Linked DNA regions of Homo sapiens: all the other regions are linked to region 2. Evidence: promoter capture Hi-C in 16 types of primary human blood cells and fetal thymus (Javierre and others, 2016). All regions are on one chromosome and are shown on one strand. Each heading gives the region's core, a stretch centred on a gene start or on the middle of the fragment in contact. The rest is flanking DNA. Distances are from core to core; before and after follow the strand shown. Region 1 overlaps LRRC74A (leucine rich repeat containing 74A). Region 2 holds the start of ZDHHC22 (zDHHC palmitoyltransferase 22). Region 3 overlaps LRRC74A (leucine rich repeat containing 74A).

Evidence for each region. The method cuts DNA at HindIII sites, captures the fragments that hold promoters and counts their contacts. A CHiCAGO score of 5 or more calls a contact.
Region 1: a fragment that was not itself captured here is called in contact with the fragment with the promoter of ZDHHC22 in region 2 in 1 of 17 cell types (neutrophils); the score reaches 5.1 in neutrophils.
Region 3: a contact is called between a fragment that was not itself captured here and the fragment with the promoter of ZDHHC22 in region 2, in 1 of 17 cell types (neutrophils). The highest score is 6.2, in neutrophils.

Annotation. Positions count from the first base shown.
Region 1 is chr14:76,829,327-76,832,255 of GRCh38, forward strand. It overlaps LRRC74A (leucine rich repeat containing 74A), which reads left to right. Exons shown (of 14, transcript NM_001385106.1): 3 at 1,877-2,049. Among named protein-coding and RNA genes, the nearest start is that of LRRC74A, 4.4 kb to the left of the region's middle. The HindIII fragment of the contact is 214 bases long and covers 1,409-1,622 here.
Region 2 is chr14:77,140,533-77,143,723 of GRCh38, forward strand. It overlaps ZDHHC22 (zDHHC palmitoyltransferase 22), which reads right to left and starts at 1,259. Exons shown (of 3, transcript NM_174976.2): 1 at 1,071-1,259. RefSeq lists enhancers at 1-213, 214-777, 872-1,373. The HindIII fragment of the contact is 23,253 bases long and covers 1-3,191 here.
Region 3 is chr14:76,853,528-76,856,533 of GRCh38, forward strand. The region is part of intron 9 of LRRC74A (leucine rich repeat containing 74A); the gene reads left to right. Among named protein-coding and RNA genes, the nearest start is that of LRRC74A, 29 kb to the left of the region's middle. The HindIII fragment of the contact is 1,324 bases long and covers 771-2,094 here.

The sequences.
Region 1 (2,929 bases), core at 266-2,765, 310 kb before region 2:
CCTCCCCACCATGGTCAACATACAACATACATCTTCACCCTTCTACGCAGACCTCCTCCCCGCTGACCCCCAGGCAGCTTGTTGCTCTTTTTCTGGCTTCTTGTCCACTTCAAGTCTGTTGTTAACGTTGCTTCTAACACCCAACTTCATTCACATGGTTGGAGAAGGTAGCAAAGGACAACACTGGATGTTTGGCCAAAGGGTCCTGTTTCTATCTCATTCCCCCATCTCTTCCCCTGACTGCAGCAAGTGCTAACACTGTCGCAAGCTGCCCATAAAATATAACAATAGGGAACACAGCTAGAAAGGGTCAGCATCAAACCCAGCAGAATTAGTCCCAGGGACAAAACCTGGGGGTTACCTTCCCTGCTTTTGCCAACAGGAACCTCTAATGGCTGAATGTGGCACCAAAAACTCTGTCCTGAATGGTAACTCGGGGCTCAGCAGCCCTGGCTCCTGGTGCTCCTGCTGTGGGTGCTGAGACACTGGGAATGGGCAGGGAGGGCATGGGAAATGGGCCAGCTGGGAGCAGTGCTGGCTGTGAGTCTAGAGAAAAGGGGGAGACGAGCCTGGTTTGCTCACTTGCCATGAGCTGTTTTTCTCCACAACAGTGGTTCTCACCTGGAAGCAATTTTGCACCAAGGGGACATTGGGCAAACTAGGGGAGGGGGGTTGCTACTGGCATCTTGTGGGTCCACGCCAGAGATCCTACTAAACACCCTACTATGTATAGGACAGCCCTCAGAACAGAATTATCCAGCCCAAAATACCTGCAGTGCTGAGGCTGAGAAGCGCTGCTGTACAAGCGTCCCAAAGAGAAGTCTAATTTGTAGTTGTGCTTGCAAAATCAGCTTCCCTGTAAAGCACTTGTCCTTTCACCAACAAAGCTCCCATTGTCAGCCTTAGATTGTTTGGAGGGGGAGGGGGTTGGCCAAAGGCCCTGGGATCTGAAGGAAAAACAGATGCAGACATAGACGCCAGCTGGCCTCAGGAAGCCCTGCCATAGGCTGGACTTGCCTAATGAGGACACAGCTGTGGGGCACCCAGAATCCAGGGAGGCCCGATGCCCAGTGACCATGGGCCAGGCTGGCCTAAAGCCTAAGAAATAAAGGCCCCCAGGGGTTAGAATGGAAAGGTGCAGTCCCCACTTCTGTTAGCTGGTTTTAGCATTGACCAACTGTGTGTTATTTGAGGCTAGGTTTGTCGTCAATAAAGCAAGGATGACAGTCCTTTTTATAAGGAAAATGACATGCAAGCTTTTGAAAGAAGAAAGACCATTCACATGCAAGCATGCTTGTTTCTCGCTGATGTGGAGGTCTTTCCATATTCACTGGTTTGCCATTTTGAGAAGTCCACTCTGTCCTAGTTGGGCTTTTTAAATGTTGGTGCCTCTCTAAGTCTTTGGTGAAGCTTTTTTCATGACTCACAACCTTGTGATAGTGGCGGTGAAACTAAAAGTGAAATGAAGATTCCATCAACCATCAAAAGTCATCCGCGTTTGGCCTTTCAGAATTGTCCAAAGGTGGGCAAGAGGGCTTGGGCCTTCTATGTCCTTGATGACCAGTCACTGGATGTGGCCAACCTGGGCAGGTGGGGTGAAGCCCACTGCTCACTTCTAGGAAAGCTTCTGGCCTAAAACCATGGGCCTCATCTCCTACCCAAAGGGAAACATTCATCTGGGACTTTCTGGAGTTAGAGTCTCCCTCTCCCACCATGGACTGACTTCCCAGACAGGAGCAGGCTTCTTAGCACATACCCACAGGGAGAGATCCTCTGGCAGAGGACAGTCTAGACATGAGTGAATGTCACTGGGGCTAGAGGGGAGAGAAGGCAAAGGTGGAAGAGAAATCCTACTTCAGCCCATCTTTCTCTGCAGATGATGAGAAATTTTTCACCACTGGACAAAAGGAGCTGTACCTGGAGGCCTGCAAGCTGATGGGTGTAGTGCCTGTCTCCTACTTCATTCGGAACATGGAGGAGTCCTACGTGAACCTCAACCACCACGGCCTGGGCCCCAGGGGTACCAAGGCTATTGCTATAGCCCTGGTGGTGAGCATGCTAGTGGGAGCTCATGAAACCTGGAGGAGGTGGAGGGTTGGCAGAGTGGTAGGCCCAAGATTCAGAGGGCCCCTCCTATGGAGCCTAAACCCACACTTTATGCCCTTATGCCACACTGCCCTGGGCTCTGCTTGGCTGCCAGATGATTTATTTAGCTCCTGGTAGGAGGCTACTAGCAACCTGGGCCTTGGAAGTCTATGCTCCTTGCAGAGACTTTGAGGAGAAAAAAATAGAAGTCTATATACTCTTTGCTGTTCAGGAAGCAAAGGCACCAGCCCCTGGGCCCAGGAAAAGTGACCAGGCCCAATTATCAATGTAAGAGCACCAACAAAATGCCAGCCTGGGTCTTCATTCCAAAGCTCACTTTTGCTGTAAATGGGTTTACTACTGACCCATTCCATTCAATGTCTGCCTTGTGCAACATTATATTTCATAAAGACCACGGTGTAGAGTAAATCAAGTTTTCCCACAGAAATAGTGTTATCTCTCAGCTTGGTATGACCAAACAAGGACTTGACCTTGAGTTCATCATGACTTTATATAATTATAACTGATTTACACACAAAACTGACTCCCATCACAGAAAAACAGAAAACCTAACAACTGCCTGTCAGCATAGCACTGTTTGTCCACTTAGAAAAGTAAACAGAAAATTCCATTATAAAAAAGCTCAGTAAGGTAGAGAGGTAGATGTGTCTTTAGAGGTGACATTTAAAATTGGTAATAGTTAAATTATCCATGGAAAGAATGAACAGAGAAAAATAAAGAGGACTTACAGGACCACCAGGTTCATATGCTCACTGTGCAGTAAGGACCAATACACTGAAACAGCAGAGTTTGCAGCAAAGAAAGAGTTTAATGATCACAGGGT
Region 2 (3,191 bases), core at 9-2,508:
ACCAGAATACCTGTGTCAGCGGGTCCTGGCCAGCACATCTCTCCAACGCTGGCTGCCCGGGCTATTTCTTTGCGAAGAGCGTTTTCATTTGAGGCGAAATTAAAATCCCCCCTTCGCGCCCGCCTCCCGCCCTCCTGCTGAGAGAAACCCAAACAACCCTCATGGCGCCGAAATCCTTTCCATGCCGACAAGCCCGCCCTGGGCGCACGAGTGGATGCTTGGCCAGCCTTTCCTGGGATCGACCCCGCCGCCGTGCTCAGCCCTCACCACGTCCCCATCCCACCCCACGCCTCACAGCCGGGGTTCCTGGCCAGCTTCGGAAGCCACCGAGAAATAGGATTCCGTGCGCCCGAGAGAACTTTTCCAGGGGCTAAGGAATCGGCCAGCCGGAGGCGCGAGAAAAGTTCTGGGAAGGCGGTTGCACCTAGGATGGGTGGATGCCACGGGGCCTCCGTCCAGGCTGTCCCGTCCGCACGGGTCGACTGGTCACCTTGGAATCCCCTTTGCAGGTCCCAGCGCCCCCCGGGAACCCGCAGCCTCCGCGGAGAGCGTGGGCCTCTCCCTACCGCTGGGGCGCAGCGCAGTGCACGCCTGAGGGTGGTCGCCGGGGGCTGGGCACGCCCCCAGTCCTGCGCCGCCGGGGGCTGCGGCGGTGCTGCCCACCCCAGAGAGCCCTCGGCCTGGGGCTCCGGCGAAGCAAGTGCCTTCCCGGCGCCGGTCGCCAGGGGGGCGCGGGAGCAGCCAGATGCGCCGCAGCGCTGGGAAGGCGGCGAAGGACAGGGGCTAGGGGAGTGAGGGGCGCTCGGCAGGCAGCCTCAGCCCTGGCCCTGCGCGGGAGAAGGGACAGCAGAGACCGCCCGTGGGGCCCCGGGGTGTAGGGAGCTGTCCGTTCAGCCCTGGCGCCCGCCTCGCCCGCGGCAGAGGGCGGCACAGCCGGAGCCTTGGAAAGACCGGCAGCGCCGGCAGCCGCGGGCTTCTCGGCCACTGCCTCCCGGACGCACGGGAAGCCGCCCCCCGCGCCGCCGCCGCCGCACTGCCGCCGTCGCAGAGGGGTGAGGAAATCAACTCACCGAGCTCTGGTCGCCGACAAGAGGAGCCCCGGACGCCGGCTCTCGCCCTGCCCGAGGCTGCAAAGTTGTGGACTCGGCCCGGCTGGCTCGCAGCCTGCGCTTCGCTTCGGGAACTGGGCAAGTAGCGGGGATGTGGGGAGGAGGGAGCGGGCAGCTGCTGGCTTCCCACTTGGGCGCCAGCGAGTAAGGGCCAGGAAGCGGCGGGGATGGCAGCTGGGCACCCCCCAGCCCCGCCACCCCTCCCTCCGCTCCTGGGGGCGGTGCTCTGGCCGCCAGTCTCAGCATCGTGGACTTGCCCCCTCCTCCCCTCTCGATTCCCCTTGAGCGGGCTGGGGCGCCCTGCCTGGTTTCAGCGCCCGTTCCAGCTGGGAGATTGGGATTCAGCCCTGATGTGGATTCTCCAGCCATCATCCTGCCCTTCCCTCTCGGCTAGGTCCCACGACCTTCCCTGCTCTCCACTCGGACTGAAGGAACCCTGGGGGCTTGAGAGGTCAGCTTGCCAGGGCAACACCCATGAAGATCAGCGTCATCTCCTCGGAAGGGCTGTGTACAGAGGGTTGGGAGTTGGGACTCTGGAGCCTGTCTACCTGGGTTTGAATATTCACCATTCACTACTGTGAGATCTCAGATTCCAGTTTCTTCGTCTGTAAATTCCAGTGTGATCTTAGATTCCAGTTTCCTCATCTGTGAAATAGAGATATGAGGGTTAAATGACAATCTATGTAAAACCCTTAAACAGGGCCTGCCCAGGGCAAGCACTGCTTGATTAGATCATAATTAGACACTACTTATCGGGCCCCTACTAGGTAGCAGGCATTGTGCTAAGCCTTTAGCATAAGATGCTTCCTTAATCCTCTCAGCCTGATCTGTGAAGCTGGCTGAGCCCCATTCTGGAGATGAGGAGGTTGAAGCTCAGAGAAGCTAAGTCTCATGTCTAAGGTCATACAGCCATTAAGTGACAGAGCCTGGACTTGAACCTGGTTCTAGCATTAATGCTCCTGCACTCAGCCTCTACACAGCCCAGCATCACCCTGGGACCCACGGGCAGCTCTGATTTGAGAGAAGGAAAGACAATGGGAGTTTATCCAGACACAGAGCTTGAACTTGGAGCTTCTTCTTTGAGCCTCACCCCCACCTTCTTATTTCTATTTCCTTCCCCTTCCAGGGCTCCGCTATTCTAAGGTGGGTACTGTGATGCGCCAAGAGGGTAGTGACACCAATGTGTATCAAACAGTGGGGGGTGGGGGGAGCAGAGCCTTAAAAACATCAAACACTGCAGGAATATTGGTGCCATCACCATCCTCAATTTCCTGGGTGTCGCAGCTCACCTACCTGCCCTGTTCCTCTCCTCTCGGTGATGGCATACTTAATAAATAAACATTTATTGCTTTCTCAACTGGCTGATTAAAACAAGAGCAATCCCTTGAAATGAGGGCCATATGCTGATCAGCTCAGCCTCTATTCTTGAATAACCACACACTGTTTCCTCTGTAATTTATCAGCATACATCAAAATAAAAAAGAGGCCAGGAAACCTTTTCACATTCTAAAAGGATCTGACATGTAAGTGAAAGAACAGTATATGCCACATGGTGGCCGTGAGCAGCTGGTAGCCTTGTGAGTTCCAGTGGCCACAGGACAGACATGGGGAGGCACACATGGCCCTTTTCCCTTCAGAGCAGCTTTGTCTCATAATCGTGGCCGTCTGGGCCCCTTTTCACAAGCTCTGTCTGCCTCTCACATGGGCTTGGCAGGGAGGGAGGCTGGCTGGGGTGCTTGGGTTTGGGTATACTGACTGAAGATCTCCATTCCCCAAATACCTTGTGAGTCGGGTGGTATTTCTAATTTTATTTTGCATATGGGTGTGAGGTGGGAAGGTGTGTGTCTGAATCTGTGTGTATGAGGAAAGGGAAAGAGAGAAAGAAGCTAAGCGAACGTGGGAAGATGTTAGTGGGGGAAGGGAGTATTCAGTCAGGAAAAGGAGATCTGGTCGTGGAAACACAAATGGACAAGGACGATTATTTATTTAGAAATATCGTTTATCAACAGAAAAGGACATTACAGCTTCAGATCTAAAGCTAGTGGTTCCTCAGCTCCCCTTAAGGAATGGAGTGAAGGGAAG
Region 3 (3,006 bases), core at 183-2,682, 290 kb before region 2:
ACTTCATATATGCATGTACTTTTTACCATCTCTTGACTGTAAATGCAGTGACCATTCTCTACTATAAAGCCAGTGTCACCCTCAGTGCTCCCTGGTACACTGCAGATCTTTCTAACAGGTCTTCCTTCCTCCCATCTGGGTCTCCTTCGGGATCTTCTCCACCTTCCTCCCATCTGGGTCTCCTTCAGGATCTTCTCCACATTGCCACCGGAGTGTGCTTTTTGTTTTGTTTTGTTTTGTTTTGAGACAGGGTCTGGCTCTGTCCCCCAGGCTGGAGTGCAGTGGTACAATCTTGGCTCACTGCAACCTCCGCCTCCCAGGTTCAAACCATCCTCCCACCTCGGCCTCCGAAAGTGCTGGGATTACAGGCATGAGCCACTGTGCCTAGCCCTCAGAATGTGCTTTTTGAACACAAATCTGACATCCATTCCCCTTCCCCCAGCCCCTCAGTCTCCTGTCTTTCAGCTTAGACCCCTGCATGGCTTCCTGTTGCTCAGATCCTGTTCGCTGAGCCCCAAGTGCCCCTCCAGCCTCAGTCCACCCGGTGCTCTCCCTTGCTCTGCACCCAAGACCCCCTGGTCTTCTCTCCACTCCTTTCCTCCTACTACAGAGGCTTGGCCACTCCGCCTCCACTTGCTTGCTGCTGGGATCCTCCGTCTAGGGGACCTGCTCCCAGAGCCCTGCTCCCTACTTCCCATGGAACTTGCTGCCCTTCCTAATTCCATGCATGTGAGGGCTCTTTGCTCGCCTGTCATCCCCTCAAATGTGAAAGCTTCATCAGAATGAAGACTGTGTTTGGGCCAGGTGCGGTGGCTTATGCCTGTAATCCCAGCCCTTTGGGAGGCCAAGGTGGGTGGATCGCTTGAGGTCACCAGTTTAAGACCAGCCTGGCCAACATGGTGAAACCTTGTCTCTACTAAAAATACAAAATTAGCCAGGCGTGATTGTGCATGCCTGTAATCCCAACTACTTGGGAGGCTGAGGCAGGAGAATCACTGAACCCAGGAGGCGGAGGTTGCAGTGAGCCGAGACCATGCCACTGCACTCCAGCCTGGGTGACAGAGCAAGACTCTGTCTCAAAAAAAAGAATGAAGACTGGTTTTGCCCATCATTAAACTCCTCATACCTAGTCCCTCATACCTAGCATAGTGTTGGGCACACTGTAGAAGCCCAGTGTGCTTCTGATGAATGAATGAATTAATGAATACATATTTCATTTTAAATTAATTTACTAGTAGATGCTAATTTATAATATAGATGCTATTGAGCAGTTGGAAAATAAATGAAAGGTGAGGACTTCTATTAATCATCCCCCTTTCTGGGGCACCTGCCAAGAGCCAGCTGTCGTTACTCATAGCCTCACCTGGTAATGTGGGCTCTGTTAGCCCCACTTGTCAGATGAGAAAACTGAGGCTGTGTGATTGCTTATGCCACACAAGTAGCAGGAGGCAGAGGGAAGCCTGCTGTACGTGGTTTTCCATGGCAACTCCAACTCCCTCAAGATGTGAGGGTGGTTGGAGAGACCACAGATGTGAGGGTCCTGAAGAAGGAAAGCAGTGAGGAGACAGTGAGGAAGGGGCTGCCATCTGAGAGGACAACCATGAGGAGCTGCTAAGAGGACAGGAGGAAGCCAGATTCTGACAGGCAGAAGGAGCACAGTGACTACAGACCAAACAGACTGGCCATCTAGTGACCAGGAGATCTGGGAGTCCCAGCTGGGGTGGAGCGGGGCCAGGCACAACTCAGACAGAGACTGACCCAGGCTGTGGGTGGCTCAGCCCCAGTGGCTGAGGAAGCCAGGGACAGTCTGAGAAACTGAATTTTAAAAGATTAAGCAGTTGCCTCAGCAAAATGGCAATAGAGGTCTTTGCTGTTTTGTGGGTATACATGGTTTAAACCATTTTTTACCGCTTTTCTCATTTTTCCACAATGACCATATGTAATGAATATATTTCAATTTTCTAAAATGTTTTAGAAGTAAAAGAGAAAAGTTTAAGACAAAACTCTTAGTTTGGCCATCATGGAGACCACATCAACTTTGCCACAGGAATTATCTATGGGTCTCCACATCCAGCCCTGATGCCCCTTGCCCTAAGCTTGGAAAAATAAGGAATTCCCATTAGGAAGTGAGTCCAGCAAAGGATTCCAGATGCTGAGCTCCACGAGGTCCAGGCCCTAGTCTGCATTTTCTCACTGGAGTACATCAGAGCCTGGGACGCAGCTGACATATACTAGGGGCTCAGTAAGAGTTTTGGCTGCCTCATGTTGAAGCCACTTAGCTGAAAGCCTTCAATAATAAGAACTATTGTTCATTGACAGCATACTGCATACCAGGCACTTGTTTTAATGCTTTGCCTGAATTGATATGGTAAGTCCTCAGAGCAGCCATAGGTGATAAGTACAAAGTGATCAGGGAATTAATGCAAGGCCAGGCAGCTGGTAAGCAGAGCCACCAGGCTCCACAGTCCCTTCCATTAACTTCCATCCATGCTTCAGCAGCTCCTAGCTCCACTGGGATAATGTCCTTGTTCCTTCTCCAAGCCTATAAGGTTCTCCATGATGTGGCCCATCCCAGCTCTGTGGCCTCATTCTCTCTGCTTCTGCTCACAAACATCTCTTGCTGTTTCACACCCCTATGCCTTTGCACTTGCCTACTCTTTTCTTCTTTGGTGAATCTTGTTTCCTCCTCTGGTTTTGCCCCCCTTCCTCAGACCTCACTAATCCTCATTAGTCCTGCAAGGCTTAGCTCCATGTTCCCCTCCCCTATGCTGCATGCTCCTTTCCTTGCTCCTGCAGTACCCAGGTGTACCTCTGTCACTGCTGTCATAACACTTCTGATGCTATTGGCTTGTTTGCCTGTCTCCCCCAATTACAGTGTTAAGTTACCCGAGGGCAGAAACCTTGCCATGTCTGCCTGTGTGTCCCTCAGTGCTTAGTGCAGTAGCTGGCATATGGCAAGCCTCTAATTAATATGTGCTGGATGGATGGATGGATGGATGGATGGAT